Linked DNA regions of Homo sapiens: region 2 is linked to region 1. The links are contacts of gene promoters, found by promoter capture Hi-C in blood cells and fetal thymus (Javierre and others, 2016). All regions are on one chromosome and are shown on one strand. The core of a region is centred on a gene start or on the middle of the fragment in contact, and the rest is flanking DNA. Distances in the headings are between cores, read along the strand shown.

What was found. Contacts are between HindIII fragments. The CHiCAGO score rates a contact against its expected background, and 5 or more counts as called.
Region 2: a fragment that was not itself captured here is called in contact with the fragment with the promoter of LINC02716 in region 1 in 1 of 17 cell types (M2 macrophages); the score reaches 5.7 in M2 macrophages.

What each region holds. Positions count from the first base shown.
Region 1 is chr11:45,769,436-45,773,826 of GRCh38, reverse strand. LINC02716 (long intergenic non-protein coding RNA 2716) reads right to left here and starts at 2,395. Exons shown (of 2, transcript NR_027134.1): 1 at 2,113-2,395; 2 at 1,469-1,834. RefSeq lists an enhancer at 2,202-2,703. The HindIII fragment of the contact is 20,811 bases long and covers 1-4,391 here.
Region 2 is chr11:45,127,464-45,131,854 of GRCh38, reverse strand. All of the region lies in intron 3 of LOC105376652 (a long non-coding RNA gene), which reads left to right. It also overlaps a transcript of PRDM11 not described here. Among named protein-coding and RNA genes, the nearest start is that of PRDM11, 17 kb to the left of the region's middle. RefSeq lists enhancers at 3,237-3,737, 3,738-4,238. The HindIII fragment of the contact is 1,414 bases long and covers 1,760-3,173 here.

The DNA of each region.
Region 1 (4,391 bases), core at 1,146-3,645:
CTGGAATCCAAGTGGGTTCAGAGCCTGCCCTGAATGCCCCACTTTTCCTCCTTCCTAGGGCCCGTGGCACTCTTTCTGGGGCCAAGCTCAGGCCAAGCTGAAGGAGCCATTCTGGAAGCAATTCTGGGCAGACGAAGGCCAAGAAGCCAATTCACAGCGGTTGTGCTGACGAGTTTCTTGGCAATGTGGAAAGTCTGACGATCTTACAAATGTGTGAAACTGAGACTCAATTTTCCCTCATCCTACCTCCCCTTTCTACCCACCCTCCAACATGGATCTAAATATGGATGCTATATTGGGGGAGTAGCCCCCCTCTCTAGACTGCAAGAGAAGATGACGTTGGGGAGGAGGTGGGGCCAGCCAAATTGGGCAAGAGCGGCCTCAGATGATGCTGCCTCCAAAAAGGTCCCTGTGTAAGTATGAGGTGGGTGGCTGAGATTTCTGAAATCCGTATCTGAGATGACTAGGTGGAGTCATACATTTCCACCCTTCTGGGGTTAAGGACACAGCCTTAACCATTTAGGGTGACCATTTAGGGTGAAGTCACTGTTTATGGGAGTCTAAACTGTGACTTTGGCAAGGTGCAATATAAAAATGCTAATACATGTTTATGCACTAAGCTGGAAATAATGCCAAGCCCCTCAGTTAAAAAAAAACCTGTCAAGAATTGCAGTTTCCTTGAGTCGGAGGAACTAAGTGAGCTGTTAAATGAGGACTGTAAACCTGCCACATGGCGACGTTGCTTTGGTTATTAAATAGAAATACCTGCTTTCTATATGCATGCACTGTTGTTTACATGCCTCTGAATTTCTAATTTCTGCAGGAGATTCTGGTGACTGGTGTGCCATTTTCTCAATGTTCACAGTTATTATAACTTTAAATATTTTACCCATATCCTGTAACAATGTCATCCAAGTGTTCTTTAAGTGGTGGTGCTGAAAAACGCACCTGAAAATCGATAACATTGGAAAGGAAGTGAGATGTGATAAAACGTTATGAAGAAGGCCAAACCACCGGCAGGAAATGCTGCACTGTTAATTTAGCAGAGAGTGCGTTATGAAATATTAGCGATAATGCCAGGGAAATAAAAAGCAGCATTAAGGCAAAAATATGCCACAATTGGAGTAATGTATGCAACCTATCCTTTCTACTTTGCATTCATTTCTCTGGCAAAATTAGTCAGAAATTATGCACGCTTTGAATTATGCAAGTTTTTCAGGACCACATGCTTTGCATAAAACTCTACTGCCCTGAGGTTCTCAGTGGGTGGAAGAATGAGTGACCATATTCTAGGGTTATCTTAGGCCAGGCCGTTGTACCCTCCTGTCCTAGGTGGGGATGAAGTGACCTCATGTGTAAAATGGGACCGTTGGACTGGCTTGTCTTTCTTTCCTTATTAGACTATGTCGAGACAGGCACCATTATATTTCTGCCCCAAAGGTGTCTTTTTCTGGACGGATCCCACAGCTGATACCAAACTTGTCTTTATTAACTGTGAGGCTGGCCATTCAAACACCAGGTGCCAGAGAGGGTCCCTCACTCATCGGAATCCGGGTGGGATGAATCCTCGGAGGCAAGGTCCCTCCACCTTCACCCTAGAGTCACACAGAGACTTGCCCTGGCGGCTGGTGACAGGTGGGCGGGAGAAGAAAAGGCCCCTGGGGAGCAGGAGAAAGCCAGGTGCCATGGGGACCCAGCGCCGCTGGAGGGCAGCACCAGCACACAGCTGAGGCCGCCTCTCCCGGAGCCCGGAGGGAGCTGGGTTCCGGTCGCCAGCGGTGCCCGGGTGAGCAGTTCACCCTCACGTCCCTGCTCTGACGAAGTTTCCATTCTTCTGGAGAAGACAAAATAAACGTGAACAAATGAACAAGTGTGCATTGTCAGGCAGCAAGTGTTGGTACAAACAAGATAGTGGTGGGGGTGGGGACACCGTTAAATAGGGGCCAGGGAGGCCTAACCCGGGAGGGGATAGCTGAGATGCCACTTGAGTGGAGAAAACAGTCCGAGATCTGAAGGTGTTCATGGAGAGGGGAAGGGGCCCCTAGAGGAGTCGGGAAAGCCTGGGTCAGGGAAGACGAGAAAACTGAGGAACAGAGAAGCCAGGTAACTTACCCAGGGTCATAGAGCCGGTGAGCTGGGGACAGCGCCTGTCAACGCCCCAGAGCCTTCCACGGCACTGGTTTCTCCGACCTTCCTCTCTAAACAGGACCGTGACAGTGACAGTTTCTGCCCCACTCCCCATTTCTGACCGCAGTCCCCATAAGGAAACAGGGCAGGGATCACTGGCTGTGAGCCCAGCAAGTCCCCTCCCGTGGCTTTCTCAGTTATTAAATGGAAGGGTGGGTCCCCCCATAACTCCGAAGCTCCCCTCTCTAAGCGTCCGCGGGCCGGGAACGCCTGAATTCTGGCTCCCGAGCACCTTCTTGTGGACAGTTTTGGAATCACACGCTCAGCGAGAAAGGGTCGTGGGAAAATGGTCTGTGCTAATTTCGGAGAGGCCAGTGGATTGGAAGGTTATCACTGAGGGTGGGTGCACGTGTGTGTGTGTGTGCGCGCACGTGCATGCGTGCATGCATCTGTGTGCCTGTGTGTGTTGGTCTGTGTGTGAATGTACCTCTGTGCGTATCTGTGTGTATGGTTGTGTGTGAGCACATACTGCCCGAGCCTGTGTGTGTGTGAGTGTGTGTGTGCACTAATGTTTGTTTATATGGGCACAGGCACACACATGTCCATGTCCATGTGTGTGTACCTGCATCTGTATTTTTTCGTCTGGTGTATGGGCTTGTTTTTGTGTGCCTGCATGCATGTGCCCATGTGCGTGTGTGTTTTGGGAACTGGGACACAGAGGATGATATGAGAAGTCCCCAGTCTTTCTCACAAAGGCCTAACCACTCTCCCTGAAGCCAGCTTTCTCCCCTACTTGCTTCTGTCTGCACCATCACCTGAGTTCTCCCACCTGAACTTTTCACCGACATTTTTGATGATTTTTCTGTTTTGTGTCCGTTGAGGCTCATTTGAATGTTACAGATCATAGCTCAAGAAATGATTCTCAGGCCGGGCATGGTGGCTCATGCCTGTAATCCCAGCACTTTGGGAGGCTGAGGCAGGTGGATCGTCTGAGGTCAAGAGTTCAAGACCAGCCTGGCTAACATGGTGAAACCCCGTTTCTACTAATAATAACAAATTAGCCAGGTGTGGTGGCGTGTGCCTGTAATCCCAGCTACTCGGGGGGCTGAGGCAGGAGAATCACTGGAACCGGTGAGGCAGAGGTTGCAGTGAGCTGAGATCCCTGGGTGACACAGCGAGACTCCGTCTAAAAAAAAAGAAAGAAAGAAGTGATTCTCCTCTAGTCTACTCACCCAAATCATGAGTTTCACTTCTCAGGTGGGCTGATCACCCACTGTCCTGTTGAGACCTGGGGACTTGTACAAAGTCGTACCCTGGAGGGTTGAGCAGAAAACCAGGCACATAGTAACTAAGACAATGGCGCGTTAGCAAAGCACTCCACACATCCCGTTCACATGTGTGTCTTACTTGACTCACAAACTGATCTTTCATCCTTTTTTTTTTCCTTTTTTGTGGTGAACAGGGTCTTGCTATATTGCCCAGGCAGGTCTCAAACTACCGGCTGATCTTTCAAGCCTAGGCAAGGTGAGGCTAATTATTCCCATTTTACAGATGAAGACACTGAGGCTCAGAGAGGGAAATAATGAAAATAGTACTGCAGGAACCATCTAACCAATATGCAAACTCTCTCATCCAGTTTTCATAACATCATCAATTCCCTTCTTTAAAAGACAAGGAGATGGAGGCTTTAAAAATGTAAGGCGAGTGCTTAATGCCATATAGCCAATCAGTAGTTGAGGCAGGATTTGAATCTCGCTCCAGAGATTAAAGCCCAAGTCCTAAACACAATGGCAGGCGTGAGGGCCCTGGGCACACACTGACTCAAGCTCTTTCAGCCACACACTGTCCCTTTGCCATGCCTCTGGGGTCCTAAGAACATCCTCCTCTGAGCCCACAGGGAGGTCATTCCCCATCCTGGGTGCCCCTGCTCCTCTCCCAGATGCGGGGCAGGTGAATCTTGTAACCTGTGTCACTCTCAGAGGCTGAGATGGGGACTGAGCATTAATTATGCAATAACCTCGCTGTGGTGTGCCTAATTGTCTGATAACCATAATTGAATCTTATGGATTACACCAACATTATTGCAGGGAGCAGCTTAAGGCAGTTAACAGAAGCTGCACTCACTTTGTGATATCTTCCTCCTGTCTCCTTGCTGGCTGGGCTGTGAGTCCTTTCCTGGGGGCTGAGGGAGGCCTCGAGGTGCAGGGGGCAGGCAGGAGGTGAGTGACAGCACAAATGTCGCATCACCTTATCCCCCCGAGGGC
Region 2 (4,391 bases), core at 1,217-3,716, 640 kb after region 1:
GAAATTGCCCTATCTTTGGACTCCTGTTATTTGAGATAATAATCTGCCCTTATTTTAGAAAGGTATTTCATTATTTGCAGCTAAAAGCATTCTAACTGTTGCAAATAGGATCATATTGCTTGTATTATTTTGAGCATGCTCTTTCATTTCATAATATACCATGAACATTTTCAAAAGTCAATAACTTACTCCTGTAATAGGATTTTGAATGGCTGCACTGTATTCAACATGTTGTGAGACATTTAGGTGTTGCCAGTTTTTGCCATTATACATAATGGTGTGACAACACCCTGCACAAATCTTTGCATATTTGTTTGGTTTCAGGGGTAATTTTCTAGAAACAAAATATTGGGTAATGGTTGTATATATTATCAAGGCTTTTCCTTAAATTTCCCTCCAAAACTTTGCATTGATTTGTAATCTGCCATTGTTACCAGCTTTCCTTGTTAGCATTCTATTTTTAACTTTGCATTGAAGTATAACGTATATACAGAAAATTACACAAATCATGCTTAATTCTCACAACCTGAAAACCCTCATATAACCAACACCCAAATCAAGAAACAGAGCATTTCGAGTCATGGGGGAATCATTTGTTCCTCCACCCAGCCAGTACCCACAGAAGTAACCATTACTCAGATTCTATCACCACAAGTGAGTTTTGCCAATTCTTGAACTTCACATAAATGAAATTACATGTATGTTGACTTTTACACCTACTCCTTGTGCTCATCATTGTATCTGTGTGATTCATTCATGTTGTTGAGAATAGTAGGTTTGTTCCATTTTTTGCTGTGTGGTATCCCCATTATATGACTATACCAATGATCCATTTTACTGTTGATGGACATTTGAGTTGTGTCTAACTCTTGGCTATTTTAAACAAAGCTGCTGTAAAGTTTCATACATGCTTTTTTGATGGACATGTGTACTCTAATGTATCTTGGGTAGTTACCTACAATTCAAATTGCTTAAATTTTTAATTCAAACTGGCAACACCTAAACGTCTCATAACACGTTGAATACAGTGCAGCCATTAAAAATCCTATTATGGAAAAAGTTATTGACGGATGAAAATGTTCATGGTATATTGTAAAATGAAAGCACATGCTCAAAATAATATAAGCAATATGACCCTATTTGCAACAGTTAGAATGCTTTTAGCTGTAAATATCAAAATTTGGTGTACACTTAATACGAAATTTCCAAACAGTTCTCCAAAGTAATTGTATCAATTTACACTCTCAAAAACAATACATGAGTGAGTTCCAGGTGTGCCACGTTCTTGCCAACACTTAATATTCACAATCTTTTTCTTTTTACTCATTCTAGAAAGTTTGTAGTGATGTTCATTGTGGTTTCAATTGACTTTTTCCTGATGAGTGATAATGTTGAACACCTTCTCATGTGTTGATTGGCCATTTGAATATCCTTTCTTGTGAAGTGCTTAAGTTTTATGCCCAAAGTTTAATTGTTTTTTGTTTTATTGATTTCTCAGATATATGTATTGCCAATATCTTATCCCAGTGTATATTTTGCCTTTTCACGCTCCTGATGTCTTTTAATGAACAGAAGTTCTTAATTTTAATGAGGCCTATTTTATGGGTAATGGCTTTGGTGTTCTAACAACTTTTTAACTATCCCAATATCATAATGATATGATTCTGTATTTTCTTTTGGAAGCTTTATTGTTTTGTTTTTCACATGTAGATCTAGAATCCATTTCAAATTAATTTTGGTGTGAGGTAGGGATCAAGCTTCATTTTTTTCCCATATGAATATCCAATTGATCTAAGACATTAGGCCATTTATTTAAAAGGCATTCTCCACCCACTGGATTGCAGTGGCACCACTGTCAAAAATCAGTTGACCATGTAAGTGTGGGTCTGTTGTTGGACTCTATCCTACTTCATTCTTCTATTTATCTGTCTTTGCACCAAACCCACATAGTCTTCTTAACTACTGTAGATTTACAATAAGTATATCTGATGGTACGAGTCCTCCAACTTTATTCTTCTTCAACATCATTTTGGCTATTCTGGGTTTTTTTTGCATTTTTATATGTATATTTTACAATCAGCTTTTCAATTTACTTCCAGTATTTTGATTGAGATGTCACAAAATCTGTAGATCAATTTGGAGAGAGATTGCTATTTGGAGAGAAACAATATTGATTCTTCCAATCTGTAAACATGAAGTGTTTATGTAAATCCATGTGTTTAGGTCTTATTTAATTTCTCTAAACACTGTTTTATAGGGTGGATATCTTGCAATTTTTCATTGTATGTATTCTTATTTGATTTTAAAAATTCAGTTGTAAATGGTGGTTTTTAAGGTTCTATTTCCAATTTGTTTTACTAGTATATAAATATACAATTGATTTCTGAAAAGTCACCTTGTTTAAACGACCTTTCCAAATTTGCTTATTAATTCTAATAGTTTGTTTATAGACCCTTTTGAATTTTTTGCATACATCACCATGTATGTGAGCAAATAATAGTTTTATTCTTTCGTTTTAAGTCTCATACTTTTCAATTTTTTTCTTGCCATATTGCACTGGCTAGGATCTTCAGTACGATGATGAATAGAAGTAGCGATAGTAGCCTTGTCTTGTTCCTAACCTCAGAGGAAAAGCATTCACTAGTTTATGTTAAAAGATGTTAGCTAAGGGTTTTTGTAGATATCCTTCATTAGATTAGAAAAGTTCCTTTCTATTCCTGTTTTCTGGTAGTTTAATTTGAAAAAGTGTTGAATTTGTCAAATAATGTTTCTATATCTATCAAGATGATTATATGCTTTTTCTCCTTTATTCTGTTAATGTGGTGAATTACATTAAAATAATGTTAAAGTAACTGCATTCTTAGAATAAACACCATGTGGTCATGATATATAATTTTTGTATGTCACTACGTTTGATTTGCTAATATTTTAGTTAGGATTTTCACATTTATGCTTATGAGTGATATTGGCCTGCAATTTTTTCTTTCCTTTCTTATAAAATATAATAATAAAATGTCAGATTTTTAAAATCAGGTTTATATTGGTCTTGTAAAGCAAGTTTGGAGGTGTTTTTTATTTCTCTTTTTTCTGAAATAGTTTAAATAAGATTAGCACTGTTTCTGCCTTAAATATTTGTGGAAATTCTCCAGTGAAGCTATCTGGCCCTGGAAGCTTCTTTGTAGGAAAATTTTCAATTACAGATTCAGTTTTTAAATGAATATTAGACTACAGTATTTTTTACTTTTTTTATATGGTAAGTTGTGTTTTCAAAGAATTTGTTCATTTAATCTAAGTTGCCAAATGTATCAACAAAAAGTTGTTAATACCATGATATCAGCGGGGGGAGGGGGGGTGCGCGGGGTGTAGCCAAGATGGCTGAATAGGAAGAGCTCCGGTCTACAGCTTCCAGCGTGAGCGACGCAGAAGATGGGTGATTTCTGCATTTCCATCTGAGGTACCGGGTTCATCTCACTAGGGAGTGCCAGACAGTGGGTGCAGGACAGTGGGTGCAGTGCACTGTGTGCGAGCCGAAGCAGGGCGAGGCATTGCCTCACTCAGGAAGTGCAAGGGGTCAGGGAGTTCCCTTTCCTAGTCAAAGAAAGGGGTGACAGACAGCACCTGGAAAATTGGGTCACTCCCACCCTAATACTGCACTTTGCCAACGGGCTTAAAAAACGGCACACCAGGAGATTATATCCTGCACATGGCTCGGAGGGTCCTACGCCCACAGAGTCTCACTGATTGCTAGCACAGCAGTCTGAGATCAAACTGCAAGGTGGCAGCGAGGCTGGGGGAGGGGCGCCTGCCATTGCCCAGGCTTGCATAGGTAAACAAAGCAGCCAGGAAGCTCGAAGTGGGTGGAGCCCACCACAGCTCAAGGAGGCCTGCCTGCCTCTGTAGGCTCCACCTCTGGGGGCAGGGCAAAGACAAAAAGACAGCAGTAACCTCTACAGACTTAAACGTCCCTATCTGACAGCTTTGAAGAGAGTAGTGGTTCTCCCAGCACGCAGCTGGAGATCTGAGAACGGGCAGACTGCCTCGTCAAGTGGGTCCCTGACCCCTGAGCAGCCTAACTGGGAGGCACCCCCCGGTAGGGGCAGACTGACACCTCACAGGGCCGGGTACTCCTCTGAGACAAAACTTCCAGAGGAATGATCAGGCAGCAGCATTTGCGGTTCATGAAAACCCGCTGTTCTACAGCCACCGCTGTTCTGCAGCCACCGCTGCTGATACCCAGGCAAACAGGGTCTGGAGTAGACTTCTAGCAAACTCCAACAGACCTGCAGCTGAGGGTCCTGTCTGTTAGAAGGAAAACTAACAAACAGAAAGGACATCCACACCAAAAACCCATCTGTACATCACCATCATCAAAGACCAAAAGTAGATAAAAC